Regions from separate parts of the Homo sapiens genome. Here region 1 is linked to region 2. The links are contacts of gene promoters, found by promoter capture Hi-C in blood cells and fetal thymus (Javierre and others, 2016). All regions are on one chromosome and are shown on one strand. Each heading gives the region's core, a stretch centred on a gene start or on the middle of the fragment in contact. The rest is flanking DNA. Distances are from core to core; before and after follow the strand shown. Region 1 overlaps IL6R (interleukin 6 receptor). Region 2 holds the start of UBE2Q1-AS1 (UBE2Q1 antisense RNA 1).

Region 1 (5,865 bases), core at 1,654-4,153, 100 kb before region 2:
AAAAATACAAAAATTAGCTGGGTGTGGTGGTGGGCGCCTATAATCCCAACTACTTGGGAGGCTGAGGAAGAAGAATCGCTTGAACCCAGTAGGTGGAGGTTGCAGTGAGCCGAGATTATGCCACTTCACTCCAGCCTGGGCAAAAGAGTGAAACTCCATCTCAAAAAAAAAAAAAAAAATATATATATATATATATATATACACACACACACACACACACACACACATATATATATACACACATACATATATATACACATACATATATATACACATACACATATATATATATACACATACATATATATATATAAAATAAATTTTAAAAGTTTCTGCATTATGTAGTTATGTCATAATTTCTACAGCTAGTCCCTTACGGTTGGATATTTGGTTATTTCCAGCATGCTGTTTTTTGTTTTGTTTTGTTTTGTTTTGTTTTGTTTTGTTTTGTTTTTGAGACGGAGTTTTGCTCTTATTGCCCATGCTGGAGTGCAATGGCATGATCTCGGCTCACTGCAACCTCCGCCTCCCGGGTTCAAACGATTCTCCTGCCTCAGCCTCCCGAGTAGCTGGGATTACAGGCATGTGCCAGCACACCCAGCTAATTTTGTATTTTTAGTAGAGACAGGGTTTCTCCATGTTGGTCAGGGTGGTCTCGAACTCCTAACCTCAGGTGATCTACCCATCCTCCCAAAGTGCTGGGATGACAGACGTGAGCCACCGCGCCCAGCCCATGCTGTTCTTTTAAATAACATTGAGATGAACTTTTTTTTTCTGATGCTGAAGCCCCTGAGACAGGACTCCAGGGCCCATGAATCACTAATAATGAGCCTTTCTTCTGTCCGCAGAATCCAGGAGTCCTCCAGCTGAGAACGAGGTGTCCACCCCCATGCAGGTGAGCTCCTGTTCTTGTAAAAGGGTCAGGGCTGCAGCACCTCGTGTTTAGGAGTGTGGGCTGATGCCAGACCGAATTTGGTTTAAATCCAGTTCTGTCACTAGTAGAAATGTGGTCGTGGTGAGTTACCTGTGCTTTTCAAACCTCTGTGAAAGGGAATCATAGAAATTATCTTGTCCCAGGACTGTAAGGAGTGGAGCAGCGCTGGCCTGGCGTGCAGAACTGCTCTGCGTCTAGCAGCTGCTATTTCATCTCTGAGCTTTTTGGACAACGCTAATGGCTTAGCTTGAGATTGGATTCTGTTTATCTGCATCCTTCCCCTGTGGACTCTTGGTGACATAATTTGCTGGAAAGAGGATTACCTCTGAAGCTGCTTAACAAATTCCTTGAGTAATCCAATTTCCTATCCAACTATATCTCCTCCTGTGGCCCTTAATTCCCTAAATGCTAAGCTGGGAGTCATAGCCACTTCTGGAGCTGTGCGGCACAGGGAAGGAGCCTGGGGCTCTTGAACCTTATCTGTGTTCCATGTAGGAACAGCTGCAGGTGAAGCCCATACCCATGGGGCTAGAGTGCTCCCAACACGGGTTCTGGGGAAACTGACACCGACTGAGGACTGGCCACATCCTGCTAAACTGTGAGCCTTGCATTTGCTGTTTCATTGGCTCCTTATGTTAACATTGCAAGGGAGTGCTTGTAAGGGCTTTTTTTTTTTTTTTTTTTTTTTTTTTTTGAGACGGAGTCTCGCTCTGTCGCCCAGGTGGGACTGCGGACTGCAGTGGCGCAATCTTGGCTCACTGCAAGCTCCGTTTCCCGGGTTCACGCCATTCTCCTGCCTCAGCCTCCCGAGTAGCTGGGACTACAGGCGCCCGCGACCGCGCCTGGCTAATTTTTTTTGTATTTTTAGTAGAGACGGGGTTTCACCTTGTTAGCCAGGATGGTCTCGATCTCCTGACCTCATGATCCACCCGCCTCGGCCTCCCAAAGTGCTGGGATTACACGCGTGAGCCACCGCGCCCGGCCTTGTAGGGCTTCTTAACGTGAGTTAAGTCTGAGGCCAGGGCCGGGCACAGGGGCTCACACCTGTAATCCCAGCACTTTGGGAGGCTGAGGCAGGCAGATCACCTGAGGTCAGGAGTTCAAGACCATCCTGACCAACATGGAGAAACCCTTTCTCTACTGAAATACAAAATTAGCTGGGTGTGGTGGCGCATGCCTGTAATCCCAGCTATTTGATAGGCTGAGGCAGGAGAATCGCTTGAACCTGGGAGGCGGAGGTTGCAGTGAGCCGAGATCATGCCATTGCACTCCAGCTTGGGCAACAAGAGTGAAACTCCATTTCACAAAAAAACAAACAAAAAAAAAGAAGTCTGTCCAAGGTGACATAGCTCGTAAGTGGTGGAACCAGCATTCCAGTCATGGTAGTACCTGCATCCTTGCATCGGACCTGTAAGGACAACAGCTGCTTCAGTGTATCCACTGAGCATCTTCTCTGTGCAGCTTTAAGCTTTTGGTGGAGAGGCAGGTGGAAAGAAAGCCCCACCTTTAGCAGGCATGGTGTGGATAGAAAAAATGCAAATAATAGTATTATTGATTTTTCCACTGTTATGAATGAAATGGAGAAAGGAATGCTTTGGGTGGATCAGGGAGGGCTCTGAGGAGGAGGTAACTCCTGAACTGGTTCTGAATGATGGTGCAATCTGCAGAAACAGGCTGATGGTGAGGAATGTCTCTTTTAGGCACTTACTACTAATAAAGACGATGATAATATTCTCTTCAGAGATTCTGCAAATGCGACAAGCCTCCCAGGTAAGGACTGGGTATTTTCATATTCCCAGGGTCCGAGGGACAGAAGATTTGTCTCTGCAGAAAGTCCTTTCTTATTTGGACATGTCGTCAGAGGATCAATCACAGATCAATCGCAGAAATGTTCTGTGTGTGTGTGTGTGTGTGTGTGTGTGTGTGTGTGTGTTGGAGAGAGTCTTGCTCGGTTGCCCAGGCTGGAGTGCCGTGGCATGATCTCGGCTCACCACAACCTCTGTCTCCTGAGTTCAAGCGATTCTCCTGCCTCAGCCTCCCAAGTAGCTGGGATTACAGGCGCATGCCACCATGCCCAGCTAATTTTTGTATTTTTACTAGAGACAGGGTTTCACTATGTTGGCCAGGCTGGTCTTGAACTCCTGACGTTGTGATCCACCCACCTCGGCCTCCCAAAGTGCTGACATTACAGGCATGAGCCACCGTGCCTGGCCAGAAATGTTCTTTTATTACTTTATATGTTGAACTTTGATATTGTTAGCTAAGATATAATGAGGAGACCGTAAGAAAAGTGGGACAAATCACTTCGAGATATTTGAAAAGTGAGATATTTCACAGTTGGCCCACAATACAAATGAATGTGCTGCAAACAAGATTATTGGAGTCTGAAATGGAATACCTGTTGAGGGAAATCTTTATTTTGGGAGCCCTTGATTTCAATGCTTTTGATTCCCTATCCCTGCAAGACCAGGAAAGCTTACCAGTATTTGAATCAAGAAAGATCACAAGTCCTGTGTTTGACTAGGTATATGGGACTTATGGAATCCAGACTCCAGAGGTTCAGTAGTTGAGCAGCTCCCCTGATGACTCTTGGGCTTCGTGAGGCAGTCCTTGCCCTCGTTCCCCATCCCTGGGTGGATTCCTGCCTGCACTGATGCTGGCTGCCTCTGCTACAACAGCCCAGGTACAAAGCCCTACCATGGTGCAGTGCACCTGTGGAGGACCTGCTAAATACCTGGGGCTGAGCTCTGCACAGTTGGGGACTCGGAGAGGATTAGAGCCATCCCTGTTCTCAAGGAGGCTACAGTCCAGGCTCTGACAAAGAGTAAATTGGTAACTGTGACAAAGACCAGCATGTGAGATGGGCCAAAAGGGAGGCACAGATAAAGCAAAGTGGAATTTAGAGATTTGAAAGAGTATATCAAGCTGAGCAGTCACAGAAAGCTCATGGAGGAAGTGCCATTTGAAATGGGCTTTGAATGGTATGGGTGGGATGCAAGAGGTTGGGTGTTCAAAGGTTGCTATGGGCCGGGCGCGGTGGCTTACGCCTGTAATCCCAGCACTTTGGGAGGCCGAGGTAGGAGAATCACCTGAGGTCAGGAGTTCAAGACTAGCCTGGCCAACATGGTGAAACCCCATCTCTACTAAAAATACAAAAATTAGCCAGGCGTGATGGCAGGTGCCTATAATCCCAGCTACTTGGGAGGCTGAGGCAAGAGAATCACTTGAACCTGGGAGGCAGAGGTTGCAGTGAGCTGAGATCGAGCCACTGCACTCTAGCCTGGGCCACAGAGTGAGATTCCATGTCAAAAAAACAAAACAACAACAACAAAAACAAAAGCTGCTATGGAGGAGGGGAACCTCCAGTCCTCTTCGTCCACCCTCACTGATGATTTTTTTTCTTTTTTTTGAGACGGAGTCTCGTCAAGCGATTCTCCTGCCTCAGCCTCCCGAGTAGCTGAGATTACAGGCATGCACCACCACGCCTGGCTAATTTTGTATTTTTAGTAGAAACGGGGTTTCTCCATGTTAGTCAGGCTGGACTCGAACTCCCCACCTCAGGTGATCTGCCTGCCTCGGTCTCCCAAAGTGCTGGGATTACAGGTGTGAGCCACCGCGCCTGGCCAGCATTCTCAAATTTAACATGTCTAAAAGAGAACACCTGACGCCTCCCCACCTATTCAACCCAGATCTGTTCTTCTCCATCTTCCCTATCTCAGTAACTGGTACCGCATTTGCTCAGGTGCGGGGGATCGGGCAGGCTTCCTCCCTACTCCTCATCCTGTGTCCAGTCCCTCAGCAAGCGTTGTCCTTGTGCTTTGAGACGTATCTAGGAATTGACCACTCCTCACCATCTCCAGTGCCAACACCCAGTCCAGCCCCTGCCGCCTCTCATCCAGCAGGGCTTCCTGGGCTGCCAACTGGTCTACCAACTTCTAGTCTTAACCCCCAACCAACTCTTTTCCAACCAGCACTTAGAGTATCCCTTAAAACACAAATCCAAGCTCTCTCTGGCTCAGTACCATCTCCCCCAGAGTAAAAGTCAAAGTCTTGACAAAGTCCCCAGTTTCTACGAGGAGTCCCAGCAAAGCCATGTGGTCCCCTATCTTTAGACGTTGCCTCTCCATTCTCCCTTTCCTCGCTCTGCCCCAGCCACACTGCCCTCCTTGCTCCTCCACACATGCTCTACCTCAGGGCCTTTGCACTTGCTGTGTGCTCTGCCTGGACACGCTTCCTCTGACATTCACTTTGCCAGCTCCTTCCTATTACTCAAGTCTCTGCTCAGATGCACCCTTCTCCGGGAGGCTTTTCCTGATAATTTTTTTAAAAAACATTTGTTTGGCCGGGCGCGGTGGCTCACGCCTGTAATCCCAGCACTTTGGGAGCCGAGGCAGGTGGATCACGAGGTCAGGAGATCAGGACCATCCTGGCTAACACGGTGAAACCCCGTCTCTACTAAAAATACAAAAAATTAGCCGGGTGTGGTGGCGGGTGCCTGTAGTCCCAGCTCCTCGGGAGGCTGAGGCAGGAGAATAGGGTGAACCCGGGAGGCGGAGGTTGCAGTGAGCCGAGACAGCGCCACTGAGCAAGACTCCGTCTCAAAAAAAAAAAAAATTCATTTGTCTGTCTCCCTTGATTGGATGTAAGATCCATTTAGATACATGATAGGCACTCAAAGAATATTTGTTGGATGAAAGAAGGAACAAATATATGGCCAGGCGCCGTGGCTCATGCCTGTAATCCCAGCACTTTGGGAGGCCGAGGTGGGCGGATCACCTAAGGTCAGGAGTTGGAGACCAGCTTGGGCAACATGGCAAAACCTCATCTCTACAAAAAATACAAAAATTAGCCGGGCATGGTGGCATGTGCCTATTGTCCCAGGTACTTGGGAGGCTGAGGTAGGAGAATTGCTTGAACCCGGGAGGCGGAGG
Region 2 (5,619 bases), core at 114-2,613:
CCCTGCCCTGGCTGGCAGCAGACCACGAAACCACTGCCCACACCCGCTCCGGGACCCTGAATGAAAATGCTGGATGGGGCTGCCCTGGAGATCCCACCACAGTAGCCCCACTCACACTCCTCCTCAACTTCCTCTCCAATCCCAGAGTCCCCACTCACTTGAGGAGTTTGACATTCCAATCATACAGACTGTCATTCACGAGTTCGACTGCATAGTTTCCTGGAAGGAGGGAAAAAACAGGTGTTAGTAGAATGGTCCAGGTGGTGAGTGGTCTCTAATGCAGACCCCTTTCCCAGACTGAGAGAAAAAGATCAACAGCTCTAGGTTCACCACAGATGGACATGCAACCAAGCCACTGGCTTGAGGAGCTCCATTCTTGGCCTGAAAAGTTCATAAGCACTCCTGGACCCCAGAACCTCTTGGGCCCCTTGCCACCATACCCTTCTTTATGGGTGACTCTTGTGCAGGCCCCTCTCTGGGGCAAACTCACCGCCTTTGAAACTCTGTGATCGGTATATATCCCTGAGCTCCTTCATCAGCCGGTCAGTGGCCTGCACCGAGCCAGACACTGCACCCTGTGAGGGACGGATGACAGGAACATTCCTTGGTCGTGTGGTTTATAAACACACGTTAGACCTTAGGGGCAGTCTGGCAGCTTGCCCAGGATTTAAGAAAGGATTAGGCACAAAAAAGGAGTCTGCTCTCCATACTGAGATGCGATGGCCTACTACTTCCCAGCCATTTCCCACCAACCCCTTCACCAGCCTCTCTCTAGAAGGCACGTACATTTAAGTAATCTTGCCTCTGGTTCTTTTTAATTTTCTCTAGGATGGCCAAGTTTTCTTTTCCAATGCCATCATCTTCAGATTTCTTGCCCTCAGCTGGCTCTTCCTCTTTCATTTCATAGTGATCTAAGTCTTCTGTGTCCTGGAGGAGGTGTGGGGTGGGAGTGAAAAGAAAAGGAAAAAAACCGACACAGGTTAGAGAATGACCATCACCTTCCCAGTCCCATTTGGCGAAGAGCCAAAAGTTAAAGTGAAGCAGTCCATCTAGCAGTCTTATAAACGCAACGTGCTTTCCATTTTTAGAACAATTTCCAGCCCCATTCCCTCCACAGTCTAAATCTTCAGCTCTCAAGCTACAGCAAGGACTTCGGAAACGAGCAGAGCTGCAGCTGAGATCGAGGCAGGGACTTAGCCCTCTTGTTTCCTGGACTGACCCTGCTCCAACTGTTCCTAAAACTCCCTTGGCAGCAGAAACTCTTCCCTAATTCCTAGCAGAAATGACTTGGGCCTGACCCTGTGACTCAAAGCTCATGTTTCACCAGGTGACTATTGCACCCGGGAGTTCTCAGGGCCCCAAGCCTAAAGGAGAAACCTGAATCATTACATCTCCTCTCCTCGCTACAAATGCAAGGCATGAATCAGGTATGCAGAGGCACGCACTGCCAGATGGAAATGAGAAAGGATGTCCAGAGAGATATATGGAAGAGGTCAAGAACAGAATTAGCCCCTTATTCATCCTGCTCTAAGTGAGCAAGCAACTAGCTCACTGAGCATAGGGAAGGAGGAGAACCTATGTAGGGTTGAGCCCCTCAGCCAGATGTTGGGGGTGTGGCCCAGAGGGCTGTCCACTATCTGGGAGGAGTAAATTTCATGTCGTCAGCCCTTTGCCAGTCTCAAGAACCTTACACGGTTATAGAACCTGGGATATTAATCTAATGCTAGGAAATAAAAGTAATCAGAGTGATCTCCCCATTTCTGGCAGGACATACCTAATTACCACACCAGCAGGTAATGTCTACTGAGTGTTTATTACATGCCAGGTTCTGTCCTAGGTGCCGCAGATACTAGCTCATTTCATTCTTACCACCATCACTCATTATTCTATCATTATCCATTTTATAGATGCGGAAGCTGAGTCTAGTGAGGTCAATTATCATGCCCAAAGTCACAGCTCTTAGCAGAGCTAAGATTCAGTCAAGTTCTGTCTAGCTCTAAAGCTCAAATTCCTAACCATGATTTTATATTCTGTATGTTTTTAGAGAATATATCAGATAGATTGTTTAGCATTTATCATGTATCATCTGAAGCATTTTATATATAACACCTCATTTAATCTCAAGACAACCATATGCAGTAGGTATTATAATCCTACTTTATAGATAAGAAAACTGTAGCTTAGTGAGATTACATAAAATTCCTCAATTAGGATAGCTAGGATGCAAACACAGGTTTGTTGGACTCCAAAGCCATTTGAAATTAACTTACCCAGTATTTGGTTTGAACCGCGCTGCACCTGTCTTCAGTGGTTGGATATGGGTGCCCTGTCTCCTCTACTACACTGGCTATTCCTCCAGGTCAGTAAATCTGTCTTTATTCCTTTGATATTTTTCTCTCTCCAGTTTTAGACTGGAGTTCTGGATATGGGTACCAATGTTGCTGACTGCAAGAGCTTCCAGCCAATGCCACCTCAGGGGGCAAGCCTACCTCAGGCATCTCCTCATCTTCATCTTCTGAAGACACGTCTTCCTGTGTGCACTGCAGCAAGGAAGGGAAAGATGGAGATCAGAGCCCCAGTGGCTTGCTAGAATGCAGCCTCCAACCTACTCCCCTGAGCCCCCAGGTCTGGAAGTTGTGCGCCTGCCTGTAATGCTGCCAGTCTCTCCACCAGCCAGATCTGAGTGGAAGCAACAGCCCAGGGAATGGCTTTGCTACCAGCCCATTATTTTTCGCCTATCACTGCCAAAGAATAAAAGAAAAGCAAAATGGCTGTCTCTGTCACCCACCTCCTAAATCCTAGTTTAATTCTCCTAAGAACCCCTCCTTTACTTGATCTTCTTTAGACTGATATTGCATTCTTGGTTCTCACCAAGGGGCCTGGGTCCCCAGTGGCCACCAACTGTTATTGCTAAGATAATGGTAAAAATTCCCCCGCTCCCTTTCAACATCTGGGATGCTGCCCATGAGAATGAATTTTGATATCAGAGATGAAGCTACCAGTGCCCCATTTAGCAAAAGAAGATTCCCATCTGGAGAAGAACGAGGGTGAGAGTCATAAGACGTGTATGTTTTTGGGAGCCGGTGGGGATGGAGAGAAACTACTGATTTGTCTCAATTATTTACTGAGTACCCTGTGGGGCAACTCTGCACAACAGGGCCCGAGGCTCCTCAGCTGCTCACCTGCTCTGCTGGCAAGGGTTGATCCAGCATCTCCACATCTGGATGCTGAGGGAGGTTATAGAGTTTACACAGGTCGGAGATGATCCTCTTCAGATGCTGCAATAGCTACAGGTAGGGGAGCACAGAGACATCAAATCCTTCCCCACTCCGATCTGGATAAGTGCATGGATGAGCTCTTAGTTTGGGCCCCACACCAATAACTAGTTCTCTAAGCCTTATGGGCCACGTGGCTGTGGGAATGAGTCTCCTGATGGACCAATCCCAGGGCCGATGCAGGGTCTCCCTCTGGCTTCAGTAAGCAACTCCCCCGAGAGGTCATCCCCTAAATGTTTAGCTGTGTACCGTCCACTTTTCAGGATCCCTTTCACAGGATGCCTTTGTGGCATGGGCCTCATAAGAACAAAATGTACCCCTACCCTGTGGCCCCCTCACCAGAGTATTCCCTTTCTTTATGTCCACCAGCCTCTCCAAGACAGCAGCCAAGTTAGGGTCATCAGACTCCACCGACCAGATGGGGGGCACAGCAGGGTATGACTCCTGAAGGGAAAAGAGCAATAAGAGCAATCAAAATGGGTGACTCTGGGAAAAGCCAGATTTTGCCTGTCCTCTTCCCCCCAAGACTTCTAGCCCCTTTGCTTCCCACCCCCACCCCCTACACACACATAAAAGCCCAACTTAGGTCAGCATCTAACCAAGCAGCTTCACAACAAATTCTAAACTGGAAGAAAAACAGTCCCTGGGAAGACCCTTTCCGAGAAGCAGACTGAAACCTTTTCTTTCTTTCCTCGAGAGTACAAACCAGGAAACCTAGCACAGCCAAACTTGGCTAACAGCGAAGGGGGACTCCTCATCTCCTGCACTGCCTATACAAGTTCTAGACTTCAAGTTCTCCCTGGACCCAGAACAGTCCTCCAAGCTTGCTTTTCAAACTCCAGAATCGGCTGAGGAAGGGATCACCTCATCACAATGACACTGAAGTGAAAAAAGCAGAGTTCAGTAGGGAAGAAGTATAAAAACTAGACTGTATCTCCAGAACCCAAGAGTAAAAGGGTACTGGCAAGAATCTACCCACACCACTTCCAGAAGAGCCCCTCAAAGACCAATTCTCCCCACCTCTCCCTTGGGAACCTGCCACCTTCTCAGTCCAGGCGTGGGCTGTAGGGCTCCACATGGCAGGCTGGGAGAAAGAAGCCTACGCTACTGACATTCCCAGCATTCCTGAGCCACGGTGCCAAATGCAGCCTGACCAGACTCCCTCTCTGCCCAAACCAAGGGGGCTAGTTTAGGCCAAGTCTCCTTTATAGCCATGGGGAGTCTGGCTGAGGACCCCCTAAATTTAACTTCCTGCCAGGGACAAACGCAGTAAATGGCCTCTGGCAACAGAAAGAGCAGCTGGATAGGGGCAAACCTACCCTTAAGGAATTAGAAGCTTAATTCAGGAACAAAATTAACTCGAGGTTCCCACACAAGCCAGGGAAACCTTATCCACCTCTACTGGGTATCTTAGCATTGCCATGACTCTAATCCTCAATGCTGGAGGAAAAATAATTATCAAAGATGCCCAAGTCTTCACTTAACTAAGCCACTCCTAGTCCTTCAATTTTAACTTTCTAGCAGGAAAAAAGAAAGGAAATGAAAAGAGAAATGGGACATATGAGTTTTGGTGGGGCACCAATCAATCCAAACTGAGGCTTTACCTCACCAAATCTTAACTTGGTTTGATTGAGAAAACGGACAGAAAACACCAGTAAGTTGAATTCAGGCCCCCAAGTAGCAGAGAATTCACAACTCTGCCTTTCCCCAGGCTACTCCGATTAGGTCTGCCTGCCTGGATAAAGTACTGTCTGCTAGCATTTCAGCTACTGCTCCGGTAGAGAGAATACCATCACAGCAGGTAACATCAACCAATATAAGTGCTATAGCATGCAGTACCAGACATTCCCAAATTAGCAGAAGCCAATTCTCTGTTCAAGGGATGTCTGAGGGTAGACCAGGCAGGAGACATGTAAGGTGTATGCCTAGGATGGAATGACGCTCACAGGGGAGAAATGCAACTGTTACTGCTTAGAATAAATGGGGGTAGCCCTCGCACATCACATCACTATCATTACCAGGAAAAGCAACAACCCAGGGCAAATGGACATATCCATAGGGAACAGGCAGGGGAGTGGCAGAACTGCTACCAGCTGAGGCAAAAAGAGGAGAGTTAGAGGTTACACCAGAAAAAGAATCCAAAGGAGAGAAGGAAGAGGAGTCAATGAATTGCAAACTATCACTTGGTGAAGTTGAGAGAGCAAGAGGGTCTGCATGAGGGATGCCTAGGCGGGGATCCCACAGGTGGCAACCTCCTAAGTCAGAGGTACTACTGAGAAGGGGGCATCGCTGAAATGTGCAGTGAGTTTCAGGCCAGGTCTTTGCAGTTAGGGTCAGTGCCGAG

What was found. Contacts are between HindIII fragments. The CHiCAGO score rates a contact against its expected background, and 5 or more counts as called.
Region 1: a contact is called between a fragment that was not itself captured here and the fragment with the promoter of UBE2Q1-AS1 in region 2, in 2 of 17 cell types (endothelial precursors and megakaryocytes). The highest score is 9.4, in endothelial precursors.

Annotation. Positions count from the first base shown.
Region 1 is chr1:154,447,277-154,453,141 of GRCh38, forward strand. IL6R (interleukin 6 receptor) reads left to right here. Exons shown (of 10, transcript NM_000565.4): 7 at 849-895; 8 at 2,635-2,704. Among named protein-coding and RNA genes, the nearest start is that of IL6R-AS1, 44 kb to the left of the region's middle. The HindIII fragment of the contact is 1,007 bases long and covers 2,401-3,407 here.
Region 2 is chr1:154,552,246-154,557,864 of GRCh38, forward strand. UBE2Q1-AS1 (UBE2Q1 antisense RNA 1) reads left to right here and starts at 1,364. Exons shown (of 2, transcript NR_046668.1): 1 at 1,364-1,427; 2 at 2,405-2,783. UBE2Q1 (ubiquitin conjugating enzyme E2 Q1) reads right to left here. Exons shown (of 13, transcript NM_017582.7): 2 at 3,615-3,719; 3 at 3,183-3,287; 4 at 2,490-2,540; 5 at 787-927; 6 at 491-575; 7 at 159-219. The HindIII fragment of the contact is 6,880 bases long and covers 1-4,096 here.